2 separate regions of the Homo sapiens genome follow, and region 1 is linked to region 2. The links are contacts of gene promoters, found by promoter capture Hi-C in human tissues and cell types (Jung and others, 2019). All regions are on one chromosome and are shown on one strand. The core of a region is centred on a gene start or on the middle of the fragment in contact, and the rest is flanking DNA. Distances in the headings are between cores, read along the strand shown.

Evidence for each region. The method cuts DNA at HindIII sites, captures the fragments that hold promoters and counts their contacts. A contact is called where the count stands out against the background at its distance.
Region 1: a contact is called between a fragment that was not itself captured here and the fragment with the promoter of ACBD5 in region 2, in 1 of the 25 tissues and cell types used here (H1 embryonic stem cells).

Annotation. Positions count from the first base shown.
Region 1 is chr10:27,377,491-27,382,034 of GRCh38, reverse strand. It overlaps the pseudogene TRIAP1P1. Among named protein-coding and RNA genes, the nearest start is that of PTCHD3, 35 kb to the left of the region's middle. The HindIII fragment of the contact is 4,381 bases long and covers 393-4,544 here.
Region 2 is chr10:27,237,442-27,242,056 of GRCh38, reverse strand. It overlaps ACBD5 (acyl-CoA binding domain containing 5), which reads left to right and starts at 1,260. Exons shown (of 13, transcript NM_145698.5): 1 at 1,260-1,383; 2 at 1,573-1,738. The coding sequence starts at 1,369. RefSeq lists enhancers at 1-38, 1,489-1,748, 1,706-2,208 and a silencer at 1,259-1,368. The HindIII fragment of the contact is 11,813 bases long and covers 1-4,615 here.

The sequences.
Region 1 (4,544 bases), core at 1,334-3,833, 140 kb before region 2:
TTATTTCTCTGAACTGGGCAACAAATGAAATCATACAAATATATACCGACGTAAACAAACACAAGGTTTTGCGCTCTCAGCTTCTGTCTTCTACCTACACTGATTACACCTCAAGAGCAGTCTTTTATAATGTTATTCAAATAACAGGCTACCAGATACTGTTCCCTCTGAAAGTGCACCTGTATCTTTCATCAACTTTAACGGAAATTATGTGCAAGCAAACTCCTACTGCTAGTTCAAGAGTCAAAGAGGGGACAAGGCATTATGAATTTTTCATATTGCTGACCAAGAAATATCATTCATTTCCTCCATTATCAATATTGTTTAAAATGAAAGTCACTGTATTTCTGAGGCAGAAATATGGGAACTTAAAAAAAAAACAATAGCTTATTTTTATTTCACAGCTTTTTTGGGGGCTGGTATTTAAAAGGAAACACTTTACTGAGGCCCACTGCCAACAATTTTTCAGTAATAAAATGAATAAAACTAGGACATTACAGAATTTCTTCACCTATGAGTAGTGAATAAGTATTATCTATGATTTTAATACCCTTTTCAGTAATATTTGCAGACTTTCCACCCAATTGATGGCTTATTTTATCCTCACACAAATATTTTCAACATGAGCCCTAGCCCAACTGTCCTTTCTTATTTTCTTGCTGAAACGTAATGAAATGCTAACTTTCAGGAATGTTGAGAAATACTGTTTTGTCTGTCCTCTAAGAAATAGCTTCGTTGTTTCCTTCCTATGAACTCTGCTCCCAATTAATTGACTTTTGTAAACATGTTTTGAGACCAGATACTGTTCAGCAGATTGTTTTTTACTAGGGTAAAGCTCTATTTATCACATGGTGTGTTTTTCTCGCTCTGTCCCCTTTGTCACTGGTTAGAAGGAAACAGTGAATTTTGAAAGTTACTAATCAACAGTGGCTATTTGCCTTAGTTTAGCCAAGTCATCCTCAACTGACCAAAGAAAGAAATCGTCAGATCACTGATGATTGGCAGCACAAAGGGGTGCGTATGTAAGATCCAAGATCAACACAGGATACGTTGTACTGCGTACTGCTTTACCACATTTCTTCTGGGTTTAACTAGGCTGGGAGCAGTTGGGCACATACTCTTACAAATGAAGCTTGGAGATGCCTGTATTTACATCTATGTGTTCAGAAGAGCAGAGCTGATAACTCTATCTGTGTCTTTAAAGAAGATCCGAGAGAGTCAACCTATGTAAGGATGGTCATATGGACTTTCCTCGCTTTTGGTCACCTCTCCTGGCTATCTCCAGCCACAGATCTGCACAGACCAATGCCACTTTATACAGAGACAGTGTCCACAGATAAAGGAAGAAATGACTGTATCTACTGCTACAGTGACCCCATTTTATTTCCTAAAGATCAGGGAACAACCCACATTTAGGATACTGCAACAAATCCTAAGGACAAAATGGCAAAATACATACATTGCTTATTCACGGTTAAGAGACACGGACTTTGACCTTTTGTTTTGTTTTTTGGCATGTGGTATTTATTCTGACAGGTAGGAGGCTCCTCTCCTAAAGCCAGAGTTTATTATTTTAAACTATAAATGTGACATATTAAGGGTTTTAAGAGTTGCATTATATTTTTTCCCTCCAATTTACTCTTCCATTACTCCTTTCCTCATCCTGTGGCCAGCTCCTCCAGAGGCTATGGCAGAGGGAGACGACACACAGTTGGAAATTCCTGCTGTTACCATAACATGGCTGTTGCTCACTCTGTGAAGGCAGGCTTTCTCTGTGAATCCCGTCTGTGGTTGTTTGGGTTTTTTTGTTTTTTTTTTTTTAACATTCCCCAATGCAGATACTCTCCAAGTGACTTCTCCCATCAGCTTTATTGAGATATAATCGGCTTTTTAAAAACTGCACATAGGTACATATACACCATGGAATACTATGCAGCCATAAAAAAGAATGAAATAATTTCCTTTGCAGCAACATGGATGGAGTCGGAGGCTATAATCCTAAGCGAATTAACACAGGAACAGAAAACCAAATGCCACATGTTCTCACATATAAGTGGGGGCTAAGCATTGAGCACACACAGACATAAACACAGTAACAATAGACACTGGACTACTAGAGGGTGGAGGGAGGTGGGCAGGTGGGTGGAAAAACTACCTATCAGGTACTGTGCTCACTACCTGGGTGACAGGATCCATACCCTAAACCTCAGCAACACACAATATTCCTATGTAACAAACCTGCACACATACCCCTTGTATCAAAAATAAAAATGGAAAATTAACAAGCAAAGAACAACCCCACTACAATGTAGGAAAGGACATGAACAGACACTTTTCAAGAGAAGACATATATGTGGCCAAAAAGCACATAAAAAATGTTCAAGATCACTAATCATTAGACAAATGCAAATCAAAACCACAAAGAGATACCATCTCACACCAGTCAGAATGGTTATTATTAAAAAGTCAAAAAATAACAGATGCTGGCAAGGCTGCAGAGAAAAGCTAATGCTGACAGGAGTGTAAATTAGTTCAACCACTGCAGAAAGTAGTTTGGTGATGTCTCAAAGAATTTAGAACTACCATTTGACCCAGGAATCCCATTATTGGGTATAACCAAAGGAATATAGATTGTTCTACCATAAAGACTCAGGCACACATATGTTCATCACAGCACTATTCACAATAGCAAAGACATGGAATCAACCTAAATGCTCATCAACAGTAGATTGGATAAAGAAAATGTGGTACATACACACCATGGAATACTATGCAGCCATAAAAAAGAACAAGGTCATGTCCTTTGCAGCAATGTGATGGAGCCAGAGGCCATTATCCTAAGGGAACTAATTCAGGAACAGAAAACCAAACACCTCATCTTCTCACTTGTGAGTCACATCTAAACACCGAGTACACATGGACACAAAGAAAGGAATAGTAGACACCGGGGCCTACTTGAGGGTGGAGGTGGGAGGAGGGTGAAAATTGAAAAGCTACTTACTGAGTTTCATTCATGCTGTGTTTATTACCTGGGTGATGAAATACTCTGTACACCAAACCCCCAGAACATGCAGTTTATCTGTAGAACAAACCTGCATGTGTCCCCCTGAAACAAAAATAAAAGTTAAAAATAAATAAAAGTTGAGGCTGGGCACAGTGGCTCACACCTGTAATCCCAGCAATTGGGAGGCCAAGGTGGGCAGATCATTTGAGGTCAGGAGTTTGAAACCAGCCTGGCCAAAATGATGAAACCCTGTCTCTACTAAAAATACAAAAATTAGCTGGGCATGGTGGTGGGTGCCTGTAATCCCAGCTACTCGGGAGGCTGAGGCAGGAGAATTGCTTGAGCCCGGGAGGCGGAGGTTGCAGTGAGCAGAGATTGCACCATTGCACTCTAGCCTGGGTGACAGAGCAGACTCCATCTCAATAAATAAATAAATAAAAGTTGGAATTAAATAAATTAAAAACTTCACATAATTAATGTATATAATATGGCGAGCTTGGACATATGTATACACTCATGTGATCATCACCACAATCGAAGTAACAAGTATATCCATCATCTCCAAAAGTTTCTTTGTGTCCCTTTGTTGCTTCAGTATTGCTGTTTTCATGGTAAGAACACCTAACATGAGAGAGTATGCCGCCATTGCCACCACCACCACCATTGCCATGAACAATGTCGTACAGACTCACACACACATGGAGCTTCAATCGTATGATCAATGCTTCAGTTGTTGGTTTGTGGAGAAGCTTCTCAAGGGCGACAGCTCTGGGGAGCCGTGCTCCAACCTCTTCAAGCATTACCTGCAGTGTGTTCAGAAAGCAACAACAGAGAGAATCTCTGTTGAAGGACTGAGTTCACGGGCCATGGTGAAGAAAAGTATGAAGAGTCTTCTTGACCTTGATGGTCACCTTGAAAATGGATTCTTCAAATCAAGAAATTGAGAACTCTGGATTTTGTCAACTAAGTCTGTGAAGACAGCCATCAGATTTGATGAGGAATTTAGGCAAGGCGAGTTTCGTTTCCTTCTTCTTGATGTTTTCCTCTCACTTGTAGAAGATGATGATTTCGGCCCGGGCATGGTGGCTCATGCCTGTAATCCCAGCACTTTGAGTGGCCAAGGCAGGAAGATCATGATGTCAAGAGATCGAGACCATCCTGGCCAACATGGTGAGACCTCGTCTCTATTAAAAATACAAAAATTAGCTGGGCATGGTGGCACGTGCCTGTAGTCCCATCTACTCAGGAGGCCGAGGCAGGAGAACCCTTGAACCAGGGAGGCGGAGGTTGCAGTGAGCTGAGATAGTGCTACTGCACACTCCAGCCTGGCAACAGAGCGAGACTCTGTCTCAACAACAACAAAAAAAGATGATGATTTCTCACTTGCTCTGGTATCTTCTAGGAACCCAGGGTGCTAAAACTGAACAATTTCTTGGGATTATGATTGCAATACTTAGTCTGGGATCAGCTGTAAATATACCTTGTATGAAAATAATGATAAACTAGTCAGGATGATCAAGGTTGCCTGACCTCTTGATTT
Region 2 (4,615 bases), core at 11-2,510:
AAATGCCGGCGCCGCGGCTCAGAGGGAAGAGTAACTTACGATCTGCGCCTAGATTTTTCCTAGTAACCCTCCTAACCCATCCCCCTAACTGACAAAAACGACTCTTCCATCCGGGAGACTTTGGGATTTCCGGGCTACAGGACTCCACCCCCCACAACCTAGTCAGTCCCACCACCAACGTTCGGCCTGGGGCACTTCCCAAATGCCTAAGGACGCAGGGGGTTGCGCTAGTAAGTTGAAGGCCCAGGGCACCCCCTTTCTAGGGTTGACGACCCGTAAAGACTCCTCATTGGCCCCGCCCTCTACGCCCAGTATCCTATTTTTATTTTTTTTTTTAATTATTGGTTTCTTAAATAGAGCCAGGGTATCGCCATGTTGCCAGGCTCGTCTTGAACTCCTGGCCTCAAGCAATCCTCCCCACTCGACCTCTCAAAGTATCGAGATTACAGGCGTGAGCCACTGTGCCCGGCCGTCCCCATGCCCAGTCTCCTATTAAATCCCGCTGGAGGTGCCTGGCTCCCTGGGGCTGGGTGGAAAGGGTAGTGTAGGGGAAGTTGCCCTCCGTCCCAGCCCAGTTTAGGAGCCGGCGACCTCCTCTCTCCTTCGGCTGCTCCTCGGACGTTCTTGGCTCAGGGCAGCGAAAACTGTCGAAGACCTGCGGGCCAGGGACTGCTGAGCACCTCCATCCAAGGTCCCCAATGCTTTTCTCCATCTACCCTTTAGAGTGGGTGTCACGATTGCCACTGGAAAGGCTAAGTGACTTGCCCTAGGTCACATAATTTAAATGGCAGAACTGGAGTTTCTCACAGAACCTGTCCCGACTTAAAGCCCTTTGCTTAGGCCCCATTTAACTTCCTCAAACCTTAACTTAGGAGAGTGCAGGCGCTGGGGACCGCAGAGTCATTTTTGTTGCCCAGCGGTGCCGTCGCGTGCAGCTTTGGGCCCAGGTGCAGAACCCAACCGCGCATCCCCAGCGCGCACTTCGTCCACCCGGCTGCCAGAGCGGACACATCGGTCCGGCCTCGGTTTCCCCCTTCTGAACAAAAGCGCGCACAGTGTGCTCCCCGCACCAAGCCGGGACTGTGGCCCCCTTTCCCCGCTTCCCGGACCCTCCTCTGGGGACAGACGGACCGCGCGCGTCCTTGCCGCGGCGGCGGGTCGGGTGGGTGGGGTTTGCTGCACTGCTGCTGCGGCGGCGGCGGCGCCAGTGGGTCCTCCGGTGACTCTGGGGCGGGGCTGTGGGGAGGGCACGGACTGACAGACGGACTCCGGCGGAATGGGGGGTGTGGCTGCTCCGCCAGGGTCCCCAGGGTGGGAGAGCGGCTCCGCGGCCACCGATGCCCGGACCCCCTCTGTCTTCTGCTAGACATGCTCTTCCTCTCGGTGAGTTGTTTTGCTGTCGTCGCGGGCCGGATTCGTGGCCTTAGTCACGCCCCGGGGGAGGAGGAAGGAGCCGGGCCGCTTCGATCTGTGTGGCCTGGATAGGGCAGGGCAAAGGGGAACTGACCCGCTTCGCTCCCGGGCCTCCTCCTTTTGGGGCATGTTGATCCGCGGCTGCGCTCCATGTTCCAGTTTCATGCAGGCTCTTGGGAAAGCTGGTGCTGCTGCTGCCTGATTCCCGCCGACAGACCTTGGGACCGGGGCCAACACTGGCAGCTGGAGATGGCGGACACGAGATCCGTGCACGAGACTAGGTTTGAGGCGGCCGTGAAGGTGATCCAGAGTTTGCCGAAGAATGGTACGTGCGCTGGGCCCCGGCTGTAGACGCCTCCTGCAGAGAGCCCCAAAGCCCCCTTTCACTTTCTGGTTCTAGTGTTGTTTATTTAGCCTTTTTTTCTGTGTAGGAGCCATGTAGTGGAAGGGGAGCTATTGAATATGAATTAATTACCTTTTGATCTTCCAAACCGGAGAAAAATCTAATATCCAGATTTTAAGTACTTCATATTGTTGAAAACAAAAGTCTTGTCACTTAATGACTGCGGATTTGGGTGTGTTAAAAAATAAATCCGGGCCGGGCGCGGTGGCTCAAGCCTGTAATCCCAACACTTTGGGAGGCCGAGGTGGATGGATCACCTGAGGTCAGGAGTTCAAGACCAGCCTGACCAATATGGTGAAACCCCGTCTCTACTAAAAAATACGAAAATTAGCCAGGCTTCGTGGCGTGCGCCTGTAGTCCCAGCTACTCGGGAGGCTGAGACAGGGAAATTGCTTGAACCCGGGAGGCAGAGGTTGCAGTGACCCGATATCGTGCCACTGCACTCCAGCCTGGGCGACAGAGCCAGACTCCATCTCAAACAAACAAACAAACAAACAAACAAAAATCTAGGCTGGGGATGCCTAATGCCACACACTCATAGGGTCTACCAGCTTAAGCGTTTTGAAAACTTTTGATATGAAGGGACAGAAAAGAAAGAATAACTATAGTCAATTGTGAAGTAATTTCTATTTTAATAAATATATATTTTCTACCTTTTTATTTGCTATTCCATTGTATAATGTTCTTTTTTATACTCATATTGGACCTTCTTTGCAGCTGGTGAGAAAAAAGTCATTCCAGTGGCTGATCTCCTTCTTGTATTTAATGTGCTATTTCTCTGGCTGCTTTTTAGATTTCTTTTCTATCTTCGGTTTTCAGCAATTTGACTAGTAGATGTGGTTTTTCTTCATATTAACCCTGTTCACGATTTGCAGAGCTTTTTGAATTTGTAATTTTATGTCATAGACCAATGTGAAGTTTTTGGCCATTAAATATTTTTCTCTGTTCTAAATGCAGAGTCTTAGAAGCAAGACGTACTTTTCAATTCATATCTTTCTACATTATATGAATTATATTTCACAATAAACATATTTATTTCTTTAGAGATGGAGTTCCGCTCTTGTTGCCCAGGCTGAAGTGCAATGGTACAATCTCAGCTCACCTCAACCCCCACCTCCCAGGTTCAAGCGATTCTTCTGCCTCAGCTTACCCAGCAGCTGGGATTACACCCGTGCGTCACCATGCCCGGCTAATTTTGTATTTTTAGTAGAGACGGGGTTTCTCCATGTTGGTCAGGCTGGTATTGAACTCCCGACCTCAGGTGATCTGCCCTCCTGGGCCACCCAAAGTGCTGGGATTACAGGCATGAGCCACCGCGCCCGGCCCAATAAACATATTTAGAAAGTAATTATAGGTGCTACTACTGTGCCACAGTTGTAAAACTAACTGAATACAACAATAATATGTTACTATAGTATTTAATATCATGATTTCTGTTTTCATTAATTATCATTAATTATCAATAATTTCAATAATTATAGGTAACAAATATTCAACACATCATTCAATAAAAATTCATTAAATGCAGATTCAGAAATTTTTAAAAACAAATATACACAAAATAGTGTTCCATTTGTAATTTCTTTCCTTCTATGGTGTTGTCTGAACCTTTTGTAATTTCAAACATTCTATTGGAGGAGGGCATATGGGGGACTGAAAGATAAGAAAGAACAAATAAAATATAAAAAAAAGCATGAACTTATTTAGGTATTGATTTTTTAAGTCCCTAATTATTAGTGTTTATAGAAAGGTATGATTCTAAGAGTTTTATGTAAGTAGTATGTTTATACTTTCTTCTAAAGCACACGTTTTTATAGTTTTTTGAAAATTGGTAAAGCTAGACTGATGTCTCTAGGCCACTATGCCTGTTGACATTATGTACCACTTATTAGGAAACCTGTATAAAGTACAGTTTGTATGTACATAACATTTAAGAAAGTATTGCAAAGTTAACATACCCTATCGGCCGGGTGCGGTGGCTCACGCCTGTAATCCCAGCACTGTGGGAGGCCGAGGCAGGCTGATGCTGAGGCGGGCTGATCACGGGGCTGGCGGATCACAAGGTCAGGAGATTGAGACCATCCTGGCTAATACGGTGAAACCCCGTCTCTACTAAAAATACAAAAAATTAGCCAGGCGTGGTCGTGGGCGCCTGTAGTCCCACCTACTCGGGAGGCTGAGGCAGGAGAATGGCGTGAACCCGGGAGGCGGAGCTTGCAGTGAGCCTAGATCACACCCCAGCCTGGGTGACAGAGCCAGACTCCGTCTCCGAAAAAATAAAATAAAATTAAATTAAATTAAATTTAAAAAAAAAGATACCCTATCAGGCCAGGCGTGGTGGCTCACACCTGTAATCCCAGCACTTTGGGAGATCGAGGCAGGCCCTGAGATCAGGAATTCCAGACCAGCCTGGCCAACATGGTGAAACCCCACTTCTACTAAAAATACAAAAATTAGCTGAGTGTAGTGGCGAGTTCCTGTAATCCCAGCTACTCGGGAGGTTGAGGCAGGAAAATCGCTTGAACTCGGGAGGCGGAGGTTGCAGTCAGCTGAGATTGCGCCATTGTACTCCAGCCTGGGTGACAAGAGCCAGACTCCAACTCAAAAAAAAAAAAAAAAGATATCCTATCAAATGGTACTTGTGTTGGACAACATCCAGTATACTGTTATCCCCTGAAACTAAGTTGATATTAATTGAAGCAGAAGTTTGTTATAATGGATTATAAATATTTTTGTAATACTACTTTTAAACCATTTGATTTGCTCTGAATCATTATGCAAAGAGCAAGATCTTGGAGT